Regions from separate parts of the Homo sapiens genome. Here region 2 is linked to region 1. The links are contacts of gene promoters, found by promoter capture Hi-C in blood cells and fetal thymus (Javierre and others, 2016). All regions are on one chromosome and are shown on one strand. Each heading gives the region's core, a stretch centred on a gene start or on the middle of the fragment in contact. The rest is flanking DNA. Distances are from core to core; before and after follow the strand shown.

Region 1 (7,326 bases), core at 1-2,500:
GTCTTAGGCAAGTACCTTCACCTCCCCAGACCTCAGTATCCCTATCTCTAAAATGAGCCTAAAGCCAGGCGTGGTGGCTCACACCTGTAATCCCAGCACTTTGGGAGGCTGAGGCAGGTGAACCACCTGAGGTCAGAAGTTCAAGACCAGCTGGGCCAACAAGGTGAAACCCCGTCTCTACTAAAAATACAAAAAATTAGCCAGATGTGGTGGCGCGCACCTGTAATTCAATCTCAAAAATAAATAAATAAAATAAAATGGGCCTAATAATAAAACCTTCCTCATAACATGACTATGAGGATTGTGAGAAATTGCAGGTTAAATATTTGGCACAGTAGCTGATATATAGTGAACTTTTCTCCCTTCTTTTTTAAGAGACAAGTGTCACTATTGCCCAGGCTGGAATGCAGTGGCACAATCATGGCTCACTGCAGCCTCCAACTCCTGGCCTCAAGCGATCCTCCTGCCTCAGCCTCCCGAGTAGGTGGGATTACAGGCGCCCGCCACCACACCTGGCTAATTTTTGTATTTTTAGTACAGACGGGGTTTCACCGTGTTGGCCAGGCTGGTCTCCAACTCCTGACCTCAAGTGATCCGCCCGCCTCGTCCTCCCAAAGCTCTGGGATTACAGGCGCGAGCCACCGCGCCCAGCCTATTCACCATTATTGTTTTAGATAACGGAAGATTATGGGGTCCTGGATTCCCAGGGACCTCGGACTTCTAAAATCCAGACGTCCTGCAATCTGTCTTAGGCCCAGGCGTGGCAGCCCCACCGGTCGAGTGGGCGGGTCGGGCCCACCGGCCACCCACCTTGGCGTCCAGCGTGCGTTTGAGCTCCCGCATGTAGGAGAACTGCTCGGGGTAGATGTAGTCGTACGGGAAGTAGACCAGGAGCCCGTCCACGTTGAGCCTGGCGGCAGGGGCTGCTGGGTCAGTTCCCGTCCCCTCAGCCCCTCTCCCGCCTCCACAGTGCCCGGTCGTCGAGCCCAGAGAAGGGTGACGGGCCCGGCGCCCCCGGTAACCCTCAGGTCCTCAGGAGCCTCGGGGCCCCCTCAGTGTCTCCTCGCTATCACTGCTGCTCCCTGCGGCTGCCCCCGTCCCACCCCTTCACCCTCCCCTCGCCCCCTTGGGGACCCAGGCGCGCCCACCGATGACCCCATCTTCAAGACCCCCCGCGCCCGCTAGCGAGCGCGACCCCCAGCCCCCTTCTCACTTCATGGCGCCGGCCGGACTGTGCAGCGGGGTCGACCCGCCTCCCTCATGAATATTCAGCGAGAGGCCGGGTCGTGGACATCCTCGAGGGCTCGCTCCACCTATATTACGAGACCATTGGCTAACCTGCCCGTCAATCCGCTAGGGCAGAGCCAATCGGGATACTGCGCGTGCGCACGGAAAAGCGAGGGCGGCTGACTCTCGGGTGAGGCGGTGCGGGAGGCGTCACTGAGGATCGTCGAGGGCCAATCAAAAAGAAAACATGGAAGGGAAAGAGCCGAGAGACTCGATCTCATTCACTAGAATTTGGTCCTCCTGCGCCTGCCAAGATTGTCTGAGTATTGATCGAACCCAGGAGTTCGAGATCAGCTTGAGCAAGATAGCGAGAACCCCCGCCCCTCCACCTCGTCTCAAAAAAAAAAAAAAATCGTCTCAGTAGCGAATAGTCTAACGGAGAATGACAGGGAAATTGGTGATCCTTTCTGGGCCCAAGAGTTAGAAATGGCTTTGCAGGCCGGGCGCGGTGGCTCAAGCCTGTAATCCCAGCACTTTGGGAGGCTGAGGCAGGTGGATCACCTGAGGTCGGGAGTTCAAGACCAGCCTGACCAACATGGAGAAAACCTGTCTCTACTAAAGATACAAAATTAGCCGGGCGTGCTGGCAAATGCTTGTAATCCCAGCTACTCGGGAGGCTGAAGCAGGAGAATTGCTTGAACCTGGGAGGCAGAGGTTGCAGTGAGCAGAGATGGCGCCGTCGCACTCTAGCCTGGGCAACAAAAGCGAAACTCCATTTCAAATATTAATAATAATAACTAATAAATAAAACATAAATGCTAGCTTTTGTTTGTTTCTTCAACAAATAGCTATGTGGCATCTACCATGTGTCTGATCCTGTGCTGGCCCCTGGGAACAGAAAGGTGACCATGACAGCCTCAGCACCTGCCCTCAAAGAACAGATTTTTTTCCTTGAGACAGGGTCTTTCTCTGTCGCCAAGGCTGGAGTGCAGTGGCACAGTCACAGCTCACTGCAGCCTCCACCTCTTGGGCTCAAGCGATCCTCCCACCTCAGCTTCCAGAGTAGCTGGGACCACAGGTGTGCACCACCAAGCCCAGCTAAGTTTTATTTTTTAAATTTTTTTAGAGACGAGGTCTCACCACGTTGCCCAGGCTGGTTAAACTCGCAGGTTCAAGTGATCCTCTCCCCTCAGCCTTTCAAATTGTTGGGATTACAGGGGTGAGGCACCAGGCCTGGCCTCAAAGAACAGATATTAAATATACAAATGAATATATGATTACAGCCTGGAGTGGTGGCTCGTGCCTGTGGTTCCAACACTTTGGAAGGCCAAGGCGAGTACATTGCTTGAGCTCAGGAGCTAGAGACCAGCCTGGGCAACATGGTGAAAACCCGTCTCTACAAAAAATGCAAAAATTAGCTGGGCGTGGTGGCGTGCACCTGTAGTCCCAGATACTCAGGAGGCTGAGGTGGGAGAATCACCTGGGCCTGGGAGGCAGAGGTTGCAATGGGCAGTGATTGTGCCACTGCACTCCAGCCTGGGCAACAGGAGTGAAAACCTATCTCAAATGTGTGTGTGTGTGTGTGTGTGTGTGTGTGTGCGCACGTGTATAATCACAAGTACAAAAGTGCTGTGAAGGAAAACTTCAAGTCACCATAAAGATTGATTATGGGCTGGGTGCAGTGGCTCATGCCTGTAATCCCAGCACTTTGGGAGGCCAAGGCAGATGGATCACGAGGTCAGGAGTTCAAGACCAGCCTGGTCAACATGGTGAAACCCTATCTCTACTAAAAAAAAAAAAAAAAAAAAAAAAGCCAGGCATAGTGGCATGCATCTGTAATCCCATCTACTCGGGAGGCTAAAGCAGGAGAATTGCTTGAACCCAGGAGGCAGAAGTGAGCCAAGATCACGCCACTGCACTCCAGCCTGCGTGACAGAGCAAGACTCCGTCCCAGAAAAAGAAAAAAAAAAAAGACTTATTATGACAGGATGTCTACTGTCAACTGTGGGGTGTGAGTGTTGGCCAAGTGATCAGAGAAGGCTTCGTGGAAGAAGCGAGGTTTGAGTAGAGCCAGAAAATAATTAGAAGAGATCAACCAGCAAGAGGGGATGGATGAGAGAAGTGAGAAAGGTGTTCCAGGGAGAGAGACCATCATACACAAAAGCTCTAGGCCAGAAGAAAGCTGAGGCCTGTGAGTGCTGAAAGGAAGCCTGTGGGGGTGGAGCTCTGAGTTGAGCACAGGGAGCAGAGAAAGGGCAGCTGGAGGGGAAGGCAGGGGCAGATCGAAATCTCTTTTTTAAATTAATTAATTCTTAATTTATTTATTTTTGAGACAAGGTCTCACTCTTTCGCCCAGACTGGAGTACAGTGGCACAATCTCAGCGCACCGCAACCTCTGCCACCCAGGCTCAAGCAATTCTCTGGCCTCAGCCTCCCTAGTAGCTGGGATTACAGGTGCGCACCACTACTGCCCAGCTAATTTTTATACTTTTAGTAGAAACGGGGTTTCACTATGTTGGCCAGGCTGGCCTCAAACTCCTGACCTCAAAAGATCCACCCACTTCAGCCTCCCAAAGTGCTGGGATTACAGGTGTGAGCCACCCTTCCCGGCTGTATTTTTGGAGACAGAGTCTTGCTCTGTCCCAGCCTGGAGTATGGTGGTGTGAATTTGGCTCATTGCCACCTTGACCTCCAGGGCTCAAGTGATCCTCCCACCTCAGCCTCCTGAGTAGCTGGGACTGCGGGTACACGACACCACGCCTGGTTAATTTTTTTTAATTTTTTGTAGAGACGAGGGTATCTCACTATGTTGTCCAGGCTGGTTGAACTCCTGAGCTCAAGCAATTCTCCCACCTCAGCCTCCCAAAGTGGTGGGATTACAGACGTGAGCCACTGTGCCCGGCTTAATTTATTTACATAAATTTTTTTATGTTTACTTTTCTATCTCCTACAGGAAGAAAATATATTTTGTTATTGACAGGGTCTCGCTATGTTGCCCAGGCTGGTATTGGGCTCAAGCCATCCTGTTCCCTCAGCCTCCCAAAGTACTGGGATTACAAGCGTGAGCCTCTGCATCCAGCCCAGATCCAAAATCTTTACTGTCACCTACAGAGTCCTCTGTAACTAGCTTACTGCTCATCATCCCCATACCAACCCACCTTACTGCTCTGATCTCCTCCTCTCTCTCCCCCAGCTCATTTTGTTTCAGCTATGCTGGTCTCCTTGCTGTCTCTAAAACATAACAAGCACATCCCATCTCAGGGCCTTTGCACCAGCTATTTTGTCTGCCTGGAATGCTGTTTCCCCTGATAGCCATGTGGCTGACACACTCACCTCCCTCAGCTCTTTGCTCAATTGTCAACTTCTCGGCCCGGCATGGTGGCTCACACCTGTAATCCTACCACTTTGGGAGGCTGAGGTGGGCAGATCACCTGAGATCAGGAGTTCGAGACCAGCCTGGCCAAGATGGTGAAATCCCGTCTCTACTAAAAATACAAAAATTGGCAAAGCATGGTAGCACATACCAGTAATCCTAGCTACCCGGGAGGCTGAGGCAGGAGAATTGCTGGAACCCGGGAGGCAGAGGCTGCAGTGAGCCAAGATCATGCCACTGTACTCCAGCCTGGGTGACAAAGCAAGACTCTGTCTCAAAAAAAAAAAAGTCTCCTTCTCAATGAGGGCTTCCTGACCACCAAATTAAATCTACCTCCTAGACACACACACACACGCACGCACGCACGCACACACACACACGCACGCACGCACACACACACACACACACACACTATATCCCCTTTCCCTGCTTTATTGTTCTTGAGAGCTCATTTAACCATGTGACATGCTGAATATTTTACTTATTTATTTTGTTTAGAAAGCTCCTGGCTGGGCGCGGGGGCTCACGCCTGTAATCCCAGCACTTTGGGAGGCTGGAACAGGTGGATCATGTGAGGTCAGGAGTTCCAGACCAGCCTGACCAACACGGTGAAACCTCATCTCTATTAAAAATGCAAAAATTAGCTGGGTGTGGTGTCGCATGCCTGTAATCCCAACTACTCAGAAGGCTGAAGCAGGAGAATCGCTTGAACCTGGGAGGCAGAGGTTAACGCTGAGCCGAGATCGCGCCATTGCACTCCAGCCTGGGCAACAAGAGTGAAACTCTGTCTCGAAAAAAACAAAAGTCAGCTCCATGGCAGGAGTGATGGCTCACGCCTATAATCCCAGCACTTTGTGAGGCCGAGGCGGGCGGATCACTTGAGGTCAGGAGTTGGAGACCAGCCTGGCCAACATGGTGAAACCTCATCTCTACTAAAAATACAAAAATTAGCCGGGCGTGGTGACACATGTCTGTAGTCCCAGCTACTTGGGAGGCTGAGGCTGGAGAATGGCTTGAACCTGGGAGGTAGAGGTTGCAGTAAGCCAAGATCGCGCCATTGCTCTCCATCCTGGGCAACAGACTCCGTCTCAGAAAGGAAGAAAGAAGGAAAGAGAGAAAGAGAGAAAGAGACAGAGAGAGAGAGAGAAAGGGAGAAAGAGAGAAAGGATGGAAGGACCCTGACAAGCACTGTTGCATAAAAGTTTCTTTTCTCTCTCTTTTTTTTTTTTTTTTTTTTTTGAGACAGGGTCTCACTTCTGTTGCTCCAGCTGAAGTGCAGTGGTGAGAACATGGCTCAGTGCAGCCTCAACTTCCCAGGCTTAAGTGATCCTGCCACCTCAGCCTCCTGAGTAGCTGGGACTGTAGGTGTGCACCACCGTGCCTAGCTAATTTTTTGTATTTTTAGTAGAGACATGGTTCCGCCACGTTGCCCAGGCTGGTCTTGAACTCCTGGGCTTAAGGGATCTGCCCGCCATGGCCTCCCAAAGTGCTGGGATTACCAGCGTGAGCCACTGTACCCAGCCTGAGTATAGGTTTCTGATAAATTTTAGGATCATATTGTTTGGACTGGGTAAGAATTTCCAGAACTCTAATGAAGAAACTGACTGGTTTATATTTTATTTTATTTTATTTTATTATTTTTGAGATGGATTTTCACTCTTGTTGCCCAAGCTGGATTGCAGTGGCACGATCTTGGCTCACCACAACCTCCGCCTCCCGGTTTCAAGTGATTCTCCTGCCTCAGCCTCCCCAGGAGCTGGGATTACAGGCACCCACCACCATGCTCGGCTATTTTTTTTTTTATTTTTTTATTTTTAGTAGAGACGGGGTTTCACCATGTTGGCCAGGCTGGTCTCGAACTCCTGACCTCAGGTGATCCACCTGCCTTGGCCTCCCAAAGCGCTGGGATTACAGGCATGAGCCACTGTGCAAGGCCTAGGCTGGTTTATAAAATTGCTAAACCAAGCAGAACATGAATTAAATACCAAGGAAATACTCTCCTAGATTGTCATGTTACATCAGCCAATACTAAAATTGTCAAGATACACAATTTGAATGAACTCCATGGTCCAAGTCGAATTATCTATGATATTACCCATCTAATAAACAGCACTATGTCCCTTAATGGGAGAAAAAGTTGGAGAATTTAAGAGAATATCAATCCAATGTTGGTTGGGTGCAGTGAATCATGTCTATATTCCCAGCACTTTGGGAGGCCAAGGCAGGAGGATCACTTGAGCCCAGGAATTCAAGGCCAGCCTCGGCAACACGGTGAGATCCTGTCTCTACGGAAAATTAAAAAAAAAAAAAGAGAGAGATTAGTGGGATGTGGTGCCTATAGTCCCAGCTACTTGGGAGGCTGAGGCGGGAGGATCATTTAAGCCTGGGACGTTGAGGTTGCAGTGAACCATGAGTGAGACTCATCTCAAAAAAAAAAAAAAAATGGCGATCACTAGAGGAAAAAAAAACTAAAGTGGGGTTTGCGGGTAGTGGGAGGGCCCTTCCTGCTAGGTTGCACTATGATCTCCAGGGAGGCTCCACGGGAGAATCATTTCCTTGTCTTTTTCAGTTTCTAGAGCCAAATTCTTTGCATACCTTGCATTCCTTGGCTCGGAACCCCTTCCCTAACCTTCAAAGCTGGCAGCTAGCCTCTGGCTCAAGTGTCACATGGCCTGTCTCTGTCTTCCTATCCAATCTTCCTCTTATAAGAACATTGGAGCCAGGCA
Region 2 (7,326 bases), core at 2,667-5,166, 200 kb after region 1:
AGAGTTAGGGCTCTGCCATGTTGGCCAGGCTGGTCTCTAACTCCTGACCTCAGATGATAATACCCGCCTTGGAGTCCCAATGAGCTGGGATTACAGGAGTGAGCCACCACTCCCTTAGATGATCCACCAGCCTGATTTTTCTCTTTTTTTTTTTTTTGAGACGGAGTCTCGCTCTGTCGCCCAGGCTGGAGTGCAGTGGATGATCTCGACTCACTGCAACCTCTGCCTCCTAGGTTCGAGTGATTCTCCTGCCTCAGCTTCCCAAATAGCTGGGACTACAGGCACGTGCCACCATGCCCAGCTAATTTTTTTTTTGTATTTTTAGTAGAGACAGGGTTTCACCATGTTGGCCAGGCTGGTCTCAATCTCCTGACCTTGTGATCCGCCCGCCTTAGCCTCCCAAAGTGCTGGGATTACAGGCGTGAGCCACCGCACCTGGCTCAGCCAGCTGCTTATAAAATTAAATATAACCTTACCATATAACCCAGAAATTTTACTCCTAGATAATTACTGGGAGAATTTCATTTCTACCAAGAGAAATGAAAACATCCATATAAAGGCTTGTACACAAATGTTCATAGCACCTTTACTTGCAATAACTTGGAAACAACCCAAATGCCCATCACTAGGACAGTTATTAAACAAAGCATGGCATATTCATATACTGTAATAAAAGAAAAGAATACACTTTTATTAAGAGTAATAAACAAAATAACAAAATAAACTAGACAGGCATGGTGGCTCACACTTGTACCCCAGCACTTTGGGAGGCCAAGCGGTGAGGATCACCTGGGCCCATGAGTTCAAGACCACTATCGGCAACTTAGTGAGATCCATCTCTACAAAAAATAAAATAAATTAGCCGGGCATGGTGGCATGTGCCTGTGGTCCCAGCTACTCAGGAGGCTGAGGCAGGAGGATCGCTTGATCCCAGGAGGTTGAGGCTGCAGTGAGCCGTGTTTGTGCCACTGCCCTCCAGCCTGGGTGACAGGGGGAGACCCTGTGTCAAAAAAAAAAAAAAAAAAAGAAGAAGAAGAAATGAACTATTGATACATTCAGCAAGAAGTATCTCAGAAGTATCAAATGAACAAAAGCTAAACATAAATTTCATAGTGTATGATTCCATTTATATCAAGTTGAACAACAAGCAGAACTAATCAACAAGGAGAGAAGTCAGATAAGGAGACAGAGCAGGGGAGGAGGGACCTTTCTAGAGTAATGACGATGTTTTATATCTTGGGTACTAGTTACATGGGTATATGCATGTACCAATACTCATTGAACTGTAGCCTTTAGATCTGTACCTTGCATTGTACAGATACTATATCTCAACAAAGAATATACCAAAAAAATCAAGTGCCAATAATTAAACATAAGAGGAGGAGTTTGGGAGCCAGTGGGATATGACTTCTTATCCTGTACTGCCTCAGGGAACCTGTTTCTCTCGCTTTGAGAGATTTCCTCACTCATAAAACCAGGATGGTCATAAACTCCCTAAATAAGGTGGTTAAGATCATTTGCTGAGATAATGGAAAGCATATTAAATAAAAGCTGTTATTATCAGTCAATAAATTATTATTCAGGGTAAACGTAGCTTCAAGCCAGTCTCTGCCCTGGTTGCACTTCCCCAGATGTGATCCAGTCAGATGATGATGATGATGACAATGATTATTACTGTTATTTTGAGACACAGTCTCACTCTATCACACAAGCTGGAGTGCACTGGTACGATCTCAGCTCACTACAACCTGAGCCTCCAAAGGTCAAGTGATTCTCCAGTTTTAGCCTCCCAAAATGCTGGTATTACGGGTGTTGGCCACCCCACCTGGCAATCCAGTCAATTTATTTATTTATTTTGTTATTTATTTATTTTTTGAGACAGAGTCTTGCTCTGCCACCTAGGCTGGAGAGCAGTGACACAATCTCGGCTCACTGCAACCTCTGCCTCCTGGTTTCAAGCCACCCTCCTGCCTCAGCCTCCCGAGTAGCTGGGATTACAGGCATGCCCCACCACATCTGGCTAATTTTTGTATTTTTAGTAGAGATGGGGTTTCACCATGTTGGCCAGGCTGGTCTCGAACTCCTGACCTCAGGTGATCCGCCCACCTCGGCCTCCCAAATTGCTAGGATTACAGGTGTGAGCCACTGTGCCCCCGCCCAATCCAGCCAGTTTTAAGCTTGCCCTAACAGTGCTCCAAGTATTAACAGAATTGTGCAGGCCGCAATAGGCAGTGCTTCCTCCCACAGACCTGGCTTGATCTTTCCATTACAGCAACCCGAGACTGCAGTAACACACAATGCTCCAGTTACCAGAGGGGCATGACTGGTTCCATCTGCCCAGCATCCTGGGGGATCCTATCTCCCCAACTTTTGGTTCAAGGGATTCAGGAGGAGGTAACCCCACTCCTGAGCCTGGCCAATTAGGGCACTGCTTTCCCTGGGCCACAGAGACGGTGCTGGGATGGGGATGTGACGCAGGGTGGACCACTGGATTCAGCCTGGGAATTTGGCAGGAAATCCGGGATGAGGCACCCCTCTGTGCCCTGGGGTCACTAGGCAGGTAACTAATACCCTCAAATGTGCCCCATGAGAGCAAGGATCTTTGTTCTGTTGACTACTGAGTCATGCCTCTTAGAACAGTTCCTGGCACACAGCAGGCACTAAATAAAGATTTGTTGAGTGAATGAATTACTCAGCCTCCTAATGGACTGAAGCATAGCCACACCCCAGAAAATGATCCCCACCTCTACTCTCCTCCCAGGCCTGGAGAGACCAACTCAACTTGGTATAGAGGATACTCAGGGGTTTCTAAGGCTCAGAGGACGCAATTAACAGAGAGGCTAGGGCCGAGCGCTGTGGCTCACGCCTGTAATCCCAGCACTTTGGAAGGCCAAGGCAGACAGATTACTTGAGGTCAGGAGTTCAAGACCTCCCTGGCCAACATAGTGAAACACCGTCTCTACTAAAAATACAAAAATTAGCTGGGCGTGGTGGCGGGCACCTGTAGTCACAGCTATTCAGGAGGCTGAAGCAGAAGAATCACTTGAACCCAGGAGGCAGAGGTTGTAGTGAGCCGAGATCGCGCCACTGCACTCCAGCCTGGGCGACAGAGCAAGACTCTGTCTCAAAATAAACAAAAAAGATTTCAGAACAACTTCAGTGCGTCTGATTACCAGTGCTACTTTATATTATTCTCTACTGTCTTAGTAATTCCATCCTCCCCACCTCCATTAGAGTTTAGAAGCCGATACTCACCACTGCAACCTCCCATACACCAAGGGGTGGGAGGTGACCCGGTTGTGGTAAGCTGGCAGTGAGGGGAGTTTCCTGGGGGCTTCTGGAAAAGGATTTTCCTCCTTGAAGCGTTACCCTCACTTACCTGACCACCCGCCCCTCCATACACACACGCATAGACTTCCTCCCTTATGAAACATAAAGGCACAATGCCTGGAGCCGCAGCAGCCCTACTGAGGCCATGAGGACTGCCTGAGCACCAACACAGCAGAGATGGAGTCCTCAGGTTCCCAATGACACCACTGAGCCACCAAACCAACCAAGAACAGGCCTTCCTCAGGGCTTACTGAAAAGCCAGCAAAAAACACCCTTTTGATTTAAGGTTTGATTGACATTTACTGGCTGGGTTTTCAATTAATTACAGATGAGCACAAACTAATACAGAGATACACCGGGGTCAATGACCGAGATGGCCTCTGGTGCTTTCTCAGGCAGGCGCCATCCCCAGGCTGACACGGGCGCCCTCTCCTGTCCACTTGGCATATTGCTTGCAGCCAGCGCAAGTAGATTCCCTGGGATGCACTCAGGTTGCAAATCAGCCAGCCCTCTACACAGGGGCTTCTGAAAAAGATCCCTGTTCAGAAATCGGCCAGAAGATTTAGCCATGAGTACATGAGCAAATTCCAGCAAATGCCTCTGCATAATGAAGGGTGGGACTAAAAAAGGAGCAGCGAGATTAAACGCAGCCAATGACACACTTCTTCCATCTGAGACTATGTGCCTTAGTTAGGTCTTTGCCAGCTGTGACAGCCACATACAAAGAATGTCAAAGCTGGCTGGGAGCGGTGGCTCATGCCTGTAATCCCAGCACTTTGGGAGACTGAGGTGGGCAGATCACCTGAGGTCAGGAGTTCGAGACCAGCCTGGCCAATATGGTGAAACCCTATCTCCAATAATAATACAAAAAAAAATTAGCTGGGCATAATGGCACACCCCTGTAATCCCAGCTACTTGGGAGGCTGAGGCAGGAGAATTGCTTGAACCTGGGAGGTGGAGGCTGCAGCGAGCTGAGATTGAACCACTGCACTACAGCCTGGGCGACAGAGTGAGACTCCATCTTGGGGAAAAAAACAAAAACAAAACAAAATTAGCCGGGTGTGGTGGCAGAAGCCTGTAATCCCAGCTGCTCGGGAGGCTGAGGCAGGATAATCACTTGAACCTGGGAGGTGGAGGTTGTAGCGAGCCGAGATTGTGCCACTACTCTCCAGCCTGGGCGACAGAGTGAGACTCTGTCTCAAAAAAAAAAAAAAAAATTCAAAGCCAGACTCTCACAGAGGGTTTCACCAAGAGTTTCCAAATTTACTTAATAATGTCTGCATAGGAAAATGTTTTCGGTGACAGCAAAACTATTTGGGGGGGGGGGGCATGAATAAATAAGTTTATTTTAAAAATTTTTATGTTCGTTTCATCCCTCTAATTTTTGTGTATGTTTTTAAATGCATATAATATAACCATACTATTATATGTTAGCGCTATACATGACTGCTAAATACTTTCATTTATTTATTTATTTACTTATTTTATTTTATTTTTTTGAGACAGGGTCTTGCTCTGTCGCCCAGGCTGGAGTGCAATGGTGCGATCTTGGCACACCGCAACCTCCACCTCCCGGGTTCAAGCGATACTCTTGCCTCAGTCTCCCAAGTAGCTGAGATTACAGGCATGCGCCACCATGCCCAGCTAATTTTTTGTATTTTTTTAGTAGAGACGGGGTTTCTCCATGTTGTTCAGGTTGGTCTTGAACTCCCCGCCTCAGGGGATCCACCCGCCTTGGACTCGCAAAGTGCTGGGATTACAGGCATGAGCCACCGTGCCTGGCTGACTGCTAAATAATTTTACATATGTGTACACACGTGCATACATATATGCTAGGGAAGGAACCTCAGAAGTGTTTCCTTGATAGGAGAACATAATAATAAATGTTTGGAGGTCACCAGCAGCAGCCTGGCTGCCATATAATATAACTGATGTGACGCTCTGGTGATTATAAATAAACTCCAGCAAAGTGATTTTCAAACACTGGTGCGTGTGAGAATGTACTCTAGAGACTGCTAAAAATAAACACGTCCACCCCTTCCCTACGTCCACCAAATCAGGACCTGCAGGTAGCACTCCTGGGCATCTACTGGAAGTGCCCCAGAAAGCTCACTAGTTTTCCTCCATATTGTGCACCTTTCAGCTCCCCAATCCTCTTGGCAGTTGTGTTTAACCTGGTGGTTAGTTAGCCCTTCTATTGAGAGCTGAACACCAACTGTTGTAGCTGTCCTTTCTAGAAGTTTTGTTTAATTCTTTTTCCAGCTTCCTGGCAATTTTTCATTTTACTTGTGTTTTAATATCCTTCTCTTTTATCCTCTTAACAGATAAGCTTAGGTATTTTATATCCACATCTGATAATTCCACGTTTGCAGGCTGTGACCTGCCATGTTTTTCTGCTGGCTCTCGCTCATGGTGGCTGCTTTTTTCATGTGGTGTATATATATATATCAATATATATTGATATATATATATATTTTGTATTTTTAGTAGAGACGGGGTTTCTCCATGTTGGTCAGGTTGGTCTGATATATATATGAGATATATATATATCTCTCATATATATCGATATATATGATTATATATCTCATATAAATAAAAAATAAAAATATATATAGTATATATATCGATATATATCTCATATATATCGACATATATGAGATATATATCGATATATATCTCATATATATCGACATATATGAGATATATATCGATATATATCTCATATATATCAACATATGAGATTATCGATATATATCGATATATATCATGATATATGTATATCAATATATGATATATATCATATATCATATAATAATCATATATATCGAGATATATGAGATATATATCATATATGAGATATGAGATATATATATCATATGATATATATATCATATATGGATATATATCATGATATATGTATATAAATATATATATTGATATATATCATATATATCATGATATATGTATATAAATATATATATCGATATATATCATATATATCTATATGAGATATATATCTATATATATCATACTATATATATGATATATCTCAATATATACCTATATATCATACTATATATATAGATATATATCTCGATATATATCTATATATATCATACTATATATAGATATATATATCATACTATATATATAGATATATATCTCGATATATATCTATCTATATATATTTTTTTTTTACTGTGAGCTTGTATGTGCTGGAACTCTATCTGAAGGATTTCTCCAAGGCCTGGGCAGAGAGAGCACAGGCAGGAAGAGTTTATGTTTGCCCTTGCCAGGTGCTTAGATACAATTAGGTACCCCTAGGGGTTCATTCTCAGCCTGCAACTTCCAGGACCTTTCAAAGAGGCCCCAAGCCCACATGAGGGACAGTCAGTGGCTACAAATTCTCAGAGGAGAATGTATCAGTCTCTACCTAGGGCAAAGCTTGTGTGCCTTCAGACGGAGGTTTTTTTCTAGTTCACCAGGTACCTTGCCAGAGACCTGGTTCTACACAAGGCTGTTGCCTGCCCAATTCCCCCACAGCATAGTCCCCATCCCCCAGGCCAAGTGATACGGTGTGGCTGTGTCCCCACCCAAATCTCATCTTATATTCACACGTCTCACTAAAAATACAAAAAATTAGCTGGGCATGGTGGCACATGCCTGTAATCTCAGCTACTCGGGAGGCTGAGACAGGAGAATCACTTGAACCCAGGAGGTGGAGGTTGCGGTGAGCTGAGATCACGCCACTGCACTCCGGCCTGGGCAACAAGAGCGAAACTCTGTCTCAAAAAATAAACAAATAAAATGAATAAATAAGTAAATAAACATGTACAGAGTACTTGAGGGCCAGGTACAGTTCTATGTTTTATGGATCTTAATATCCACATAACAACCCAATTACAAGCATAAAACTGAGGCCCAGAGAGGTTAAATAACTCTCCCTGGGGTCACACAGAAAGTGGCAGAGCGGGGACAGATAAGCAGGCAGCCTGG

The links. The method cuts DNA at HindIII sites, captures the fragments that hold promoters and counts their contacts. A CHiCAGO score of 5 or more calls a contact.
Region 2: a fragment that was not itself captured here is called in contact with the fragment with the promoter of ERCC2 in region 1 in 1 of 17 cell types (monocytes); the score reaches 6.2 in monocytes.

What each region holds. Positions count from the first base shown.
Region 1 is chr19:45,369,323-45,376,648 of GRCh38, forward strand. It overlaps ERCC2 (ERCC excision repair 2, TFIIH core complex helicase subunit), which reads right to left and starts at 1,251. Exons shown (of 23, transcript NM_000400.4): 1 at 1,214-1,251; 2 at 811-910. The coding sequence starts at 1,218. RefSeq lists enhancers at 5-846, 1,465-1,544, 6,019-6,856, 6,857-7,326. The HindIII fragment of the contact is 22,978 bases long and covers 1-7,326 here.
Region 2 is chr19:45,566,333-45,573,658 of GRCh38, forward strand. All of the region lies in intron 1 of OPA3 (outer mitochondrial membrane lipid metabolism regulator OPA3), which reads right to left. Among named protein-coding and RNA genes, the nearest start is that of OPA3, 15 kb to the right of the region's middle. The HindIII fragment of the contact is 3,482 bases long and covers 2,176-5,657 here.